Linked DNA regions of Homo sapiens: region 1 is linked to region 2. Evidence: promoter capture Hi-C in 16 types of primary human blood cells and fetal thymus (Javierre and others, 2016). All regions are on one chromosome and are shown on one strand. The core of a region is centred on a gene start or on the middle of the fragment in contact, and the rest is flanking DNA. Distances in the headings are between cores, read along the strand shown.

What was found. Contacts are between HindIII fragments. The CHiCAGO score rates a contact against its expected background, and 5 or more counts as called.
Region 1: the fragment with the promoter of HECTD2 here is called in contact with a fragment that was not itself captured in region 2 in 7 of 17 cell types (non-activated CD4 T cells, total CD4 T cells, naive CD8 T cells and 4 more); the score reaches 12.8 in non-activated CD4 T cells.

The regions. Positions count from the first base shown.
Region 1 is chr10:91,408,073-91,414,229 of GRCh38, forward strand. HECTD2 (HECT domain E3 ubiquitin protein ligase 2) reads left to right here and starts at 2,272. Exons shown (of 21, transcript NM_182765.6): 1 at 2,272-2,504. The coding sequence starts at 2,367. The region is part of intron 3 of HECTD2-AS1 (HECTD2 antisense RNA 1); the gene reads right to left. RefSeq lists an enhancer at 1,679-1,888 and a silencer at 2,039-2,628. The HindIII fragment of the contact is 4,522 bases long and covers 1-3,119 here.
Region 2 is chr10:92,846,578-92,853,412 of GRCh38, forward strand. It overlaps EXOC6 (exocyst complex component 6), which reads left to right and starts at 1,943. Exons shown (of 22, transcript NM_019053.6): 1 at 1,943-2,057. The coding sequence starts at 1,957. RefSeq lists silencers at 1,760-1,909, 2,050-2,389. The HindIII fragment of the contact is 2,554 bases long and covers 941-3,494 here.

The DNA.
Region 1 (6,157 bases), core at 1,022-3,521, 1.4 Mb before region 2:
ATTCCCATTCTCCAGCCCCCTCCTGGACTATGTATGAGGGAGGGATGAGGTGGTGGATTGAGGACATTTATTTAATAAGAAGTCAAAGGAAACATGAACAAATTATCATTTTTTACATGGAACTCACAAGCTAATTAATCAGAGAATTTGTTAAGAAATGGGTTATCTACTCTGGTGCAGTAGCAGAAATTAACATTTTTGACTTGCCTTGTTTTGCCAATATTTAAGCAGTTTGTTCTATTGAATGTGACTACATGTACAGACACACTTTTATTTAGTCTCACACATGAAAAAAGAAAGCAGAAGGCCTGTTATCCAAGTGGTTTCTCATCCAAACATTTTTATAGCAAATTACTAAATCTAGTTGAAAACAATAGGAAAGAGGATACTTTTCCCTCTAGTATTTGTTCTATCAACCTAGACTTAGCACAGAATATCTGAAATTGCAGCTAAAATAAAGGCTTCATTTTATAAAATAACATTTGAGTTGTTCCTGTATCCATGATCAGCATACAGACCTGCTAAAAGCAGAAAATAATGTTATGTTCCTCTCTATGGGATGAGTATTTCAGTAGTTTTAAGGAAAGAAAATCCTGAAAAAGAATTTAGAAAAATATTAATAGAAAGGAGGAGGATGCTTCAAAGTAATGCCGACATACATCATTTTCCCTCCAAGGCTATTAGCACTGAAATACTTTTTGCTGACTATATGGCACTTATTCTATACCTTTTGTTAATTAACAAGTAAATAGGTGGCAACAGCAACTATATTAAAGTAGAAAGCCTTTCTATAAATGAAAGTCAGAATTCAAAATTTAGAAGGCAACATTGTTTGCTTCAGATCTACTTGTTACAAATTGTGGGTTTGAAAACATGCAACCTTATCTCATGATGCACCATAACTAGTATTTAGTTATACTAATAACTCCAAATTATGTAAACAATAGATACCCCGAAATCATATTTGGGTTTGTTTCAGAGATATTTTTGGTTCTTATATTTGGACTTAGGTACTCTTGATCTAAAAATTCACTCAACCTCCAATAAAATAATGAAGGCACAGATAAAAAATCTGATAGAGCTGAATATCGAAATTCCTTGCTTTTAACAGGCGATACAGCGCATTCTTACTCTCTTTTCTCCTAGATCAGCAGGTGTCCCCGCCGCTCCAGTAGACTGAGAAAAAGGAAAAGGAGGGGGCGACAAGAAAGGAAAGGAAATTGTCTAGGTGTCCTGGTGGTGGAGGTGGGGGGTATTTTAATTTCATAATTAAAAGCTCTCTTCTTCGGCTTTCAAGTTTTTACTCCTATTTGTAATGATTTGATTGAGGACTGTGCAGCAGAGTTTGGGTATGTACATCTCTAACATAAACGGAAAGGAACAAGGAAGGGACGGATAGGAGACAGCAAAGGGTTGCGGGGAGAGAGCAAAACGTAGGCGCGTGGGGACGGGAAGGGAGAGGCGGATTTGGCAGTCAAAGAGGGACGAGAGGAACAGGAATGGAAAGTGTGGACTGGCCGTCCAATCCTATGGGGGAAGGGGAAAGGGGGGGCCCACCACGTCGCACTCCTCCCCACCTCCAGGCTTTTCCTGTGTAGGCTGAAGCCATCCAGGCGTGTACAAAAGAGTCGGTTGCTGAGCCAGGAAGGCTGTCTCCCCGGGCTGCGCAAGCTCCGGGCCGCCTCTCCTGGGCTCAGGAGGGCGGGCAAGGATAAGAAGGCAGAAGCCCCAAGGCGGACAGCTTTGTGGGCGCCTGGAAGAAGGCGAAAGGCCACCAGCCCAGACCCCGAGGGCGCTTGCCCGCGGGACTCGGCGCCGCAGGCCAGGGCCGTCCGTGAAGGGTAGTCTGTGCCTACGTCCTGCCCTACTGGTACCACTCGGACACTCTATCCCCGTCCGACCCTTTGCAGGGCTCGACTTGTCTCCCCGACTGCCCGTCCTTAGTCCAGGTTCTCCTGCGCGGCCCGGGTGCGGGGTCTCCTCGTCATCTCGGGCGACACTCTGCAAACAATATGGCGGTCGGGCGTCGACCGTGGCGCCTTCTCTCCGGGCCCTCGGGGTTGACGAGGGGGACTACCGCCGGCGCTCCCGACCCGCGACGCGCGAGCCCCGGGCGGGCGGGGGAGGCGAGAGCAAGAAACCTGTGGGACCTGTGGGGAGCCGCGTCCGCGGGGCTGGCGCGCGCGGGGGCGGCCTCGGGCTCGCGCGCAAAGGCGCGGGCGCGGGCGGGGGCGGAGTGGCGGCGGCAGCGGCGGCTAGAAGCGGCAGCCCAGAGCCCTCTCGCGGCCGCGGCGGCAGCAGCAGCGCCAGCCCCAGCAACACTGAGGCCGCCGCCGCCGCCTGGCGCTCCCGCCGCCCGGCCCGACATGAGTGAGGCGGTTCGGGTACCCTCGCCCGCCACTCCGCTGGTGGTGGCGGCGCCCGCGCCTGAGGAGAGGAAAGGGAAGGAGTCAGAGCGCGAGAAGCTGCCGCCCATCGTATCGGCGGGCGCCGGCGCGACCGCGGTAGGTGGTGGGCCGGGGCCGTCTGGCGCCCCGGACGGCGGGAGTTGGGAGGGACGGCGGCCGGGCGAGGGCCGTCAGGAGGCCTGCGTTTACCCTGGGCACGCCCTGGCACTCCAGGGAGACGCACTCAGGCCGCCCTTCCTTGGGCAGAAATAAAAGAGTTGTGCCTCGTGGACAGCCCCGAACACTTCGCGAGGTACACCTACCACCCTCGGGAAATGTTGGGGGTGGTCGGTTCCGCTGGATGTTTGGGTTATTTTCTGGGGCTTGGGCCCCCACTTTCTCTAAGAGAATGACCTGCATCTTGAGTCGGCATGATCTGTTGGATGAGCATAGGTGTCAGCAGGCGGGAGTGGGTTTTCCACGGAGGTGCCTGCCTGCCTGCCTGCCTTGGAGGCGCGCAGATTTTTGTCCTTTTCTTCGCTTTTCTTTCCCTTCCCCCTTCAGATTAAACAGGCTCTGCGGCGAGTTTCCACTTAATTGTGACCTTTCCGTTGCTGTCAGTGTAGTGGGAGGTAGATGCATCAGTGATGGTTTTATTTTTCATATGGTACAGACATGTGACTCAGGTGGGGGGAGGCTTTTTGAACCTTTTATTTAAACCCAAGTTATCTAAGCTTGACAGGGATGATTTCCCAGCTGTATCTTCGTAAGGGTTATTTGGAGAGCGCTGTCAGGCTTCAAACTACATATTGCCAGATGATGTCATGGGACAGCCCCCTCCCCCTCTTTCCCTATTTTTACTGGTGGTTGTGACTGGTTAATTTGAAGCACAATTTAAAAAAAAACCTCGGATTTTGCAATTTTTTATTTTGACATAATATTTAAGTACTTTTTGAAAGTTTGCTTTGATATATTTAAAGATCATGACTTGTCATGCAGCTGTGTGTGACAAAATAGTAAAAGTTTAGTGAACATTATACATTTTCTTTATTCCTACTTGCGGTTCATTTCTTAAAACCTCCCTCTTAAATGACTAAGAACTTACTAAAATAGCTCACTCTTCGTTAAGTACTGTATTGGTGTTAGGAATAATTTTCGGATTCGGTAGGTTTTTCAAAAATGTCTGAGGGCCCTGATAACTGGAAATTGTTAAAACAAGCTCTTTAAATCAATGCAGCAAATTGCGAACAGTAATGATACACGTTTAAAAGCGTAGCTACAATTGATTGGTAGATTGGAGCTGGGGTTAGGGATTACCCTAGAAAATGCTTTGAAGGAATTTGTCACCCAGCTGCTTGGAGACCTGGTTCCTGCTGCTGGTACCCTAGGTTTTCAGATTTTATATAGGAAGTCTTTAACTCACAGAATTCCAGCAGTTCATTTCTAAGTTGGTTGTTTAAAACAGTAAATGTATGTACTTATAGAAACAGTTAAATGAGTGGGTTTAGGTCCTCAAGCAAACGCTCTCCCAAAAACCTATTCATCTCATAACTGAAAAATTGCCGTTTTGGAATTTGCAAGTGTGGATACAAGTCTACAGTCTGCTTTGGGATTTCAAGTTTTTCAGATTTTAGAAAGGTAATTCGGTACATATATCATATATTATTTAATACCCACAGTAAGGTCCTAGCCAGTTCTCTCTAATCAACCATCTTAATAACTGTAATGAAATTATGTGTTCATGCTAAAGGGAAAAAGTCAGTAGCGTCATGTCATTTCAGATTAGGTGCATGTTTTTGCCACCAAATGAGTTGCAAAGACACTTCAGTTTCAAGAATTTATAGGACTTTGAAATTGTAAATAGAGGATTATGGACTTGTACTACTAGACAAAGAGAAGAATATATTCAAGAAAAAAATTTAAATCTTGAATTAAACTTTGAAAAGGTATGAGTTGGAATAGAAGAGGATAAGGATAAATATACAAAACTTGAGGGTTTTTTTTTTTTCTTTTTGAGACGGAGTCTTGCTCTGTCGCCAGGCTGAAGTGCAGTAGCCTGATCTCGGCTCACTGCAATCTCTGCCTCTCGTGTTCAAGCCATTCTCCTGCCTCAGCCTTGCTTGTGCCTTATAAAGTCTTTCAGAGTCAGTACCATTGATTATTTATTTTTTAAAAAAAAAAACAATTTATGACAGGATCTGTGGCAGAATGTGTGTGTGTGTGTGTGTGTGTGTGTATTTGTCAAAGAGAGACTTCAAAGCTAGAATTCAGAGCTAATAGCAGTGAAAAGCTTAAGTGTAGAAAATCTATGCTTGGTCCTTAGTCCATCCAAAGGATAAGAAATCCAGGAGAACTGGGGTGGTGATTGACTTTTACAGCAGCTAGGAAGGCCTTGGTATGTGTGGGGAGGGGGAGGAGGTCTTGATGTGTGAGGTAGGTGGGCAGGGAAATACAGCTTGTGGCCTCTTGAGTTGTTTTTCAGCCTCCTGTAGATTAAATAGAGCTCCTAGAGGTTTGCTTAGGAACCTAATTGTCATCAATAACTTTTTCTTTGAGACATTCCAGTGATTGTTCCTTTTTGCCCCAGCCTAATGGTTCTGCCTGTCTAGTTTGTGTCTATGACTCAATTCGTGACCCTACAATAGTGGCTTTTTCAGAAAATCATTGTACCACATTTATAAATGAATATATATGAATAAAATAATATAAATATTATCAATAAGTAGAAGGTCAGTTTACAGTGACCCTAAATAAGGTTGAAGAGTTAGGCTGTATCCTTTATGTTTACAGAAAGGTACAGGGGTGGGAGAAAGAATGCTGGAAAGGGCAGCCCTGAAGTGTTTTATCCTAAGACCATCTAAACGTGAAGGAAGTCCATTCCAGCTAGTGAGGAGGTGCCTAACACAGTGGTTTCAAGCCTGACTGACCACAGAGTTACCTTGGTAGCATATTAAAGTCCTCATTCCTACATCTCACCCTAGAGCACCTGTTTTCAACCTTAGATGCACAGTAGAATTAACTGAGAAACTTTTAAAGCCATCATTATCCAGGCCCAAATGCAGTATTGTTAAATCAGAATTTCTGGGGATGTTGCTCAGGCATCTTTTTTAAATTTAATTCCCTGGGTATACCAAGATTGAAACTTGACACTCTATATACTGAATCAAAAGCTCCATGGGCAAGGTGTAGGAATCTGTATTTTTTAATTACCATCTCCCAAATCTACTTAGTTTGTGGAGCAGCGTTTGAAATGGACTTGTGACAGGTATGGATGAAGTGAACAAGAGACAGTAGAAATCAGGCGTGGTGGGGAATTGAAAGAAATGGCAGTGGCAGTGGTTCCAGTTAGAGATTCTCAAGAGGCTCAAGATGGAGCCCTCAGAGACTTTCAGTGTTTGGGTCTTGGCCTTGCTGCTGTGGAGAGGTGATGCAAATCCATGGAGTCAAACAGAATAAAGAATTTGAAGTAATGTATGGATATGAAGGGCTGATGATGTGAATATTAAATTTACTGAGGTTGATGGATTGGAGTGGAATATTATAAATTAGTTACTGATGTATTACACATGTTTAAAAAAGTGGTGAATGAGAAAGAAGAAAATGCTTAGAGGTGGGGCAGAAATAACAGTGGCAGCGAGGATGAATTTGACTGGCTACTTCTACACCTAATCAGGTGAACAGAAAAGAGAGGTTCTACATGGGGTAGAACCCTCTGGATAGGGTACCAGTACATTGGGTTCAAGAAAGAGCTAGATTTGACTTAGGTCAGA
Region 2 (6,835 bases), core at 968-3,467:
AAGAATGAAAAGCTAGGTCTCTCTGCAGGAAATGGAAGACTGTCTTAGCTCAATGGATGTGTATAGCTGGAATCCATTGCTCTGAAGATTCCAGATTAATAGGAAGGAGGGCATTAGCAATGTTTTATAGGGCCCTTCCTAAGTTTGGTAGGCAGTGGGTCCCACTGATGCTCACATTCTAATCCCTGGAACCTGTGCATATGTTATTTTTACATGACAAAGGGGGTATTGCATATGTGATTAAGGTTAAGGACCCTGAGATGGAAGATTATCCTGGATTAAATGGTTGGGTCCACTCTAATCATATGGGTCCTTAAAAACTGAGCATCTTTTCCAGCCTAAGTCAGAGTCAGAGGAAGATGTGACCACAGAAGAATGGTCAGAGAGATGTAATGCTGCTAGCTTTGAAGATGGAGGAAGGGGGCCACAAGCCAAGGTATGTGGGTGGCCTCTAGAAGCTGGAAAAGGCAAAGAAACAAATTCTCCCGCAGAGTCTCTAGCAAGGAACACAGACATGCTGACACCTTGATTTTTAGCCCAGTGAGACCTGTGACAGACTTCTAACGTACAGAACTGTAAGATAATATGTCTGAGTCATTTTAAGCTACTCAATTTGTGGTGATTTGTTAAAGCAACAATGGAAAACTCATACACCATGGGACAGCAATATGAGGCAGACACTGCCATTGTCATTTACAGTCATTTAACTGACATATAAAAGAACTAGGTTCTTGCCCAATGTCACACAGCTGTCAAGTGATATTAATCCAAGAATTAATGTCTTCGGACACTGGTCTTCAGAGCTCATGCTCTAACTATTGCACAATACCACCTCCCAGGATGTTTGTGGGGAGGAGGCTGGAGGTAGGTTTCAAGTAAAAGCTCACTAAGGGTGAGTGAGTTACACAGCTGGATAAAGAGCTTGGTTGACTCAAAGGGAAGCTTTTCAAAGCCCTGGATTAATGTAGAGCAGAAAGTAGTTGTTCCTCAGGCTAGGTTTCCATTCTGTTCCTGTTTAGTCTTCCTTCCTCCCTGCTTTGATCATGACAAACTGGTTTACTCAGTGTCCCACAAACATGTCATTAAGCACGACTTTTTTCTACACTGATACCTTTGTCCAAGCCTCCCTGCCTCTCTCTCCCACCTCCCTGCTGCTAACCCCCTTTCAAGAGCTCTCACCCCTTCTCAACCCAGCTACTCTGACCTGGGGGCACCTGAGTTCACGGACTTTGGTATGAATTACACATCGCCCTGGGCCTTTTTTTTTTTTTTTTTTTTTGGTATCTCTGCCATCAAGTGTCTTAACTTCTCATCATTTAATTTTTTATGTCGCTTATAATTTATTTCCAAGTTGACTGGCCGCTGTGGACTTCTTGCAGGCGGGGACATGAATCCACCTGGAGCGGTCTTCATGGTCAACTGGGATCTTTATTCGTTCCTAAAATAAATCTTACTATCACATGCAATTTTGCTTTTCGTGAGTGCATGTTTTCCTTTCTCTGACTCCCCACGACCCAGAGTACATCAGGCCCTTGTTAAATGTCCCCGTGGCTCTTATTACAGATTCAGGGTGATGATCTGAGTGTCCACCTTGCTGATTACTACGGTACCCCCGCGTGTGGCACAGGGTGTGGCACACACAGAAGACAAGGAGATATGTTAAAGCCCAAAGGCCAGGCACAAGACGCCCAGGAGGGACTAGTCGCGAGAGAGGGCAGGAGGCCAGCTGGGTACCCGGCCGCCGCCCGTAGCCCCAGCTCACAGCCCCCGCTCACTCCTGCAGGTGCGGGGGCGGGAACCGGGTCGCGCGCCTTCTGCCCGGCGTTCCGCGCGCCCCCGCGCCGCCGGCCCGAGCGCCCCGCCCCCGCCCCGCCCCTTCGCGCTCGCGCCACTTGGAGCTCGCCCCCGTCGTTCCCGCGGCGCCGCGCCTCGCTGGCTCCTCAGCTTCCAGCCAAAATGGCGGAGAACAGCGAGAGTCTGGGCACCGTCCCCGAGCACGAGCGGATCTTGCAGGAGATCGAGAGCACCGACACCGCCTGTGTGGGGCCCACCCTCCGGTAAAGATCTCATCCCACCGGGACTTCGGCCCCCCGCCCCACGCCGGCCGCTCCTCACGAGCCGGGCGGGGCGTCCGCCGCCGGCCGCGCGCGAAGCTCCCCGACAGGTGGTGCGCGCGGGGGCGGGCGGGGGCGCTCGCGGGTGGCGGAACTCTAGCCGGTACCCGGGCGGGACCGAGAAGGCGGCTGCACCTGTCGGCGCGGCCTGCCTCCACCGCTGTAGCTGTCACCCCGCAGCCGGTGGGTGTGGCTGCTGCAGGGTCTCTAACCCCGGGCCCCGCGCTGCGGCCCCGCGTTCTCCTCCTGGCTGCGGCCCCCGGGCCCGAGGACACTTCTGGGGCCTGCCCCCGTCTCGCTCGTGGTGGGGCTGAGGGCTGCTCGGCCGCGGGCATGCCAGGCTAGGGTCGACAGCAGGCACCCGGCGTGACGGAGGTGCCAGGTCGCGCGCGGGTGGAAAGCCTGGCGCGCCGGGCTGCCGCGGGCGTGGGAGAATTGAAATTGAGCGGGAGACGCCGGCCCGCTTTCCCCCTACTCCCCCGCGCGGCCGCAGTGGGCGAGAAGAGAGCGTGGGCTGGAGAAGAGAGCGTGGGCTGGAGGAGAGCAGCTGCTTGCTGCTTGGGAACACGCTAGGGTGACCCTGCGCTCGCGGGATCTAAGCTGCTTTGGAGGCAGAACAGCTTTTACTTATTTACAAACATTTCATTAAAATTGCATTAATTTTTCCGTTTAAATCGAGTTCCTCCCCATTCATTTTAAGAATAGTACTAGGTAATGCATATTCCATGCCAAACTGAGTACCTGCTGTTCCAATAGAATATTATTAGCCAGGCAACGTAATGAGCCATGGGTTAGGTTAGGCACTGTCTTCAAGAATAAGTTCCTTTTACATATAAGGTTTCATCTTTTGGAGTGATAATAATGATAAATGAAGTTATTATTCACTTAGGGAACTTGAGACTGATTATGCTTTATCATTAGTATTCTTCAGAATACACTTCCTAGAATAGAGCGCTGTACAGTTTGTGGACCTGTGAATATAGTGTAAATTGAAGCCAGTTCAAGTTATGTAAATACACCTTGCCCTTAAGAGTCAGGAGGCCTGGGTTCTTGTTTTGCCCTAATTCTGCCTCTGATGAAATGTGCAGTCATGGAAAAAAATTATTTAACCTCTCTGGATCTCGGTTTCCTTATTTGTAGAATGGGGAGGGGAGAGTATTCAGATGCCCAGGAAACTCAGAACATTAGGGACCTTGCCTATTTGTTCACTACTGTATCCCTAACACCAAGCATGTGGTAGGCATGTTATAAATTTTTGTCACATAAGGTTTCTGCTATGATATGATAATGCATAATTAGTGCATTTCCTTAATTTTCCAACATTATTATTTCTTTTAATAAACTGTATACTTGGTAATGAAAGAAGTAAGATTAAAAGGAAGCTTTGTTTTCATCACTGCATCTTGAAACTGAGAGTGCAGTGTGTGATAAAGTTACTAGAGTAGTTTATTTGTGAAAATAGTACTGGTTATGAAGGAGGTGCTTCATCTTAGGAAAATGTGCTAGGTAGTGTCCTTGAAAAAAGATGAAATTAACTTAGAAGAAAAATTTGAAATATATTGAGAGATTTTTGGGACACTCAGGAACAGAATATGTGTATTCATAGTGTTATTCTGTTCTTTTTTGCTGGGCAGTTGTTTCAACTGGCTCATTTTGTTTGAACCCACTCTCTTTTCTTTAGCAATCCCTGGTGACTCATACTTATCCCATATATATGTATATTTGTGTCTCATTTATAAGCAGACGCTTTTTGCACACATATAGAGGGTACTGCTAGCAGTCTTTTCTCTTGAACATTGTTTAAGCTACTACTATTTTTTCCCTTTTTTTTCAGGTTTCACGAAGTGAAGTGTTAATATTGCATTTTTAAAAACCATTTATTATGGAAAAATTTTAAATGTTTAAAAAAGTAAAATAGTGTAATGAACCACCATGAACTGTCATCTAGCTTCAATTCATTCCCTGGCCAGTCTTGTTTGATCTCTTCCCTTATCTACTCCCTATCATCTTGGATTATTTTGAAGGAAATCCAAGACATCAATTTATTCATAAATATTTTAGTATTAAGATTAATTTTTGTTGTTATTTCCTAATTATCTTTTAGCTGGCCTGTAGACTTATCATTTTATTTATATTGTTTTTTCTCAGCGGCGGGATTTTTCAGCCTGATCTTTTCCTGAGAAGCACGTGATAAACTTTCCGCAGGCCCTGACATATAACATGGTTCTTTGACCACAACAGAAGTATATTAGAAATCAGTAGTTAAAAAAAACAAAAAAACAAAAACTATCTGGAAAATTCCCAAATATTTGGTCATTGACTAACACACAAAAAATAAATCAAAAGAGAAATTAGAAAGTATTTTAAACTGAGTAAAATGAAAACACAGCATATCATTTGTGAATGCAGCTAAAGAAATAGTTAGAAGTTTATGGCACCAAACACCTCTACTAGAAAAGAATGGCTTCAGCTCCTAGCCTAAGAAACTAGGAAAAGAGGAGCAAATGAAATTCAGAAGAGTGGAAGAAAGGAGATGGTAAAGATCAGAGTGGTATTCAGTGAGACAGAAATACAGAAAGTCAGTGAAACTCAAAACTGGTTCTTTGAGGAGACTGTAAAATTGATAAACCTTTAGGGGTAGAAAAGGAGACGATACAAATTAAAAATAACAGGGCCAGGCGCGGTGGCTCACGCCTGTAATCCTAGCACTTTGGGAGGCCGAGGCAGGCAGATCACTTGAGGTCAGGAGTTTGAGACCAGCCTGGCCAACATGGTGAAACCCCGTCCCTACTAAAAATACAAAAAAATATTAGCTGGGTGTGGTAGCACACGCTTGTAATCCCAGCTGCTCGAGAGGCTGAGGCAGGAGAATCGCTTGAATCCGGGAGGCGGAGGTTGCAGTGAGCCGAGATTATGCCACTACTCTCTAGCCTGAGCGACGGAGCGAGACTCCATCTTAAAAAAACAAAAACAAAAACAAACAAAAAAAAAACAAAACCAACCAACTAACCAAACAAACAAAAAAACGGGAGTGAGAGAGGTTACGTGACTATAGATTCTACAGACATTAAAAAAAGGTTAAGAAATATTATGAATAGGCTGAGTGCAGTGGCTCATGCCTGTAATCCCAGCACTTTGGGAGGCTGAAGCAGGAGGATTGCTTGAGCTCAGGCATACAAGACCAGCCTGGGTAACATAATGAGACCTTGTCTCTACAAATACAAAAATTAGCTAAGTGTGGTGGTGTGTGCCTGTGGTCCCAGCTACTCGGGAGGCTAACGTGGGAGAATGGCTCAGAGTCTGGGTCGTTAAGGCTGTAGAGAGCTGAGATTGTGCCACTGCACTCCAGCCTAGGCAACAGAGTGAGACCCCCATCTCAAAAAATGTATATATATTATGAACAACTTCATGCTCATACATTTGGCAACTTAGCAGAAATGGACAAATTAGTTGAAAGATACAAAGTATTATCAAAGTTCACTTAAGAAGAAATAGCTGAATAGCCCTGTATCAATTAAAGAAAGGGAATTTTGCTGTTATAAGCCTTCCCCAAAAGGAAACTCTAGGCCCAGATAGTTTTACTGGTGGATTCTACATCTTTAAGGAAGAATTAATGCCAATTCTACAAAGACTTTTCTGGAAAATTGAAGAGGAGGGAATATTTCCCAGCTCATTTTGAGGTCAACATTAACCTGATACCAGAACTAAAGAAAGAAAGACATAACTAGAAAAGGAAACTAAATCAGTATTCCTCATACACACAGATTTTACAAAAAATTTTAGAGAATTAAATCCATATATGTGGATTTAAAAGTATAAAATACATCTATATAAAAAGTATATTCTGTATATGTATATATGTGTGTGTATATATATGTGAAGAATACATCATGATCAAGTGAGGTTTATTTCAAGAAAGATGCTGGCTTAACATTTGAAAAATCAATGTAACATTGTTCACCATATTAAACAAAGAAAAGTTGTATGATCATATATGTGGAGAAAGCATTGACAAAATCGAATATTAATTCCTGATTTTAAAAACCCTCAGAAACTAGTAATGGAAATTCCTCAGCTTAAAACAGGGCATCTATGAAAATCTAGAGCTAAATTGTGCTTAGTGGTAAGAGTCTGAATGCTTTTCCTCTAAAATCAGGAATGAGGTAAGGATATTCATTCTCACCACTTCTATTCAACACTGTACTAGAATGTTGAATATAAGGCCGGTATAATAAGACCATTTAAAAAAAAAGCATCTAGTTTGGAAAACCGTCTTTATTTGCACACTGTGTGATCAACTATTATAGAAAATCCTGTGGAATGTACAGAAAAGCTACTAGAACTGATAAGTGAGTTTAGCAAGGTTGTAGGAATCAGGTGGATATGCAAAAGCCAATTGTGTTTCTCTGTACTAGCAACAATCAGAAATTGAAATTTAAAATTTGATGGTATCAAAAATATGAAATACTCAGGGATAAATCTGACTAAAGATGTGGAAGACTTGTATGTGAAAAATACAAAACATTGCTGATATAAATTAAATTAACATTGCTGATACTAAACTAAGTAAGTGGACACATACTGTTTTCATGGATTGGAAGACAGTATTGTTAAGATGTCAGTTTTCTCCAACTTAGTCTAGATATTCAAGATAATCTGAATAAATCCCAGCAGAATGAAAATTTATAGAAATTGACAAGCTGATTCTAAATTTCATGTAG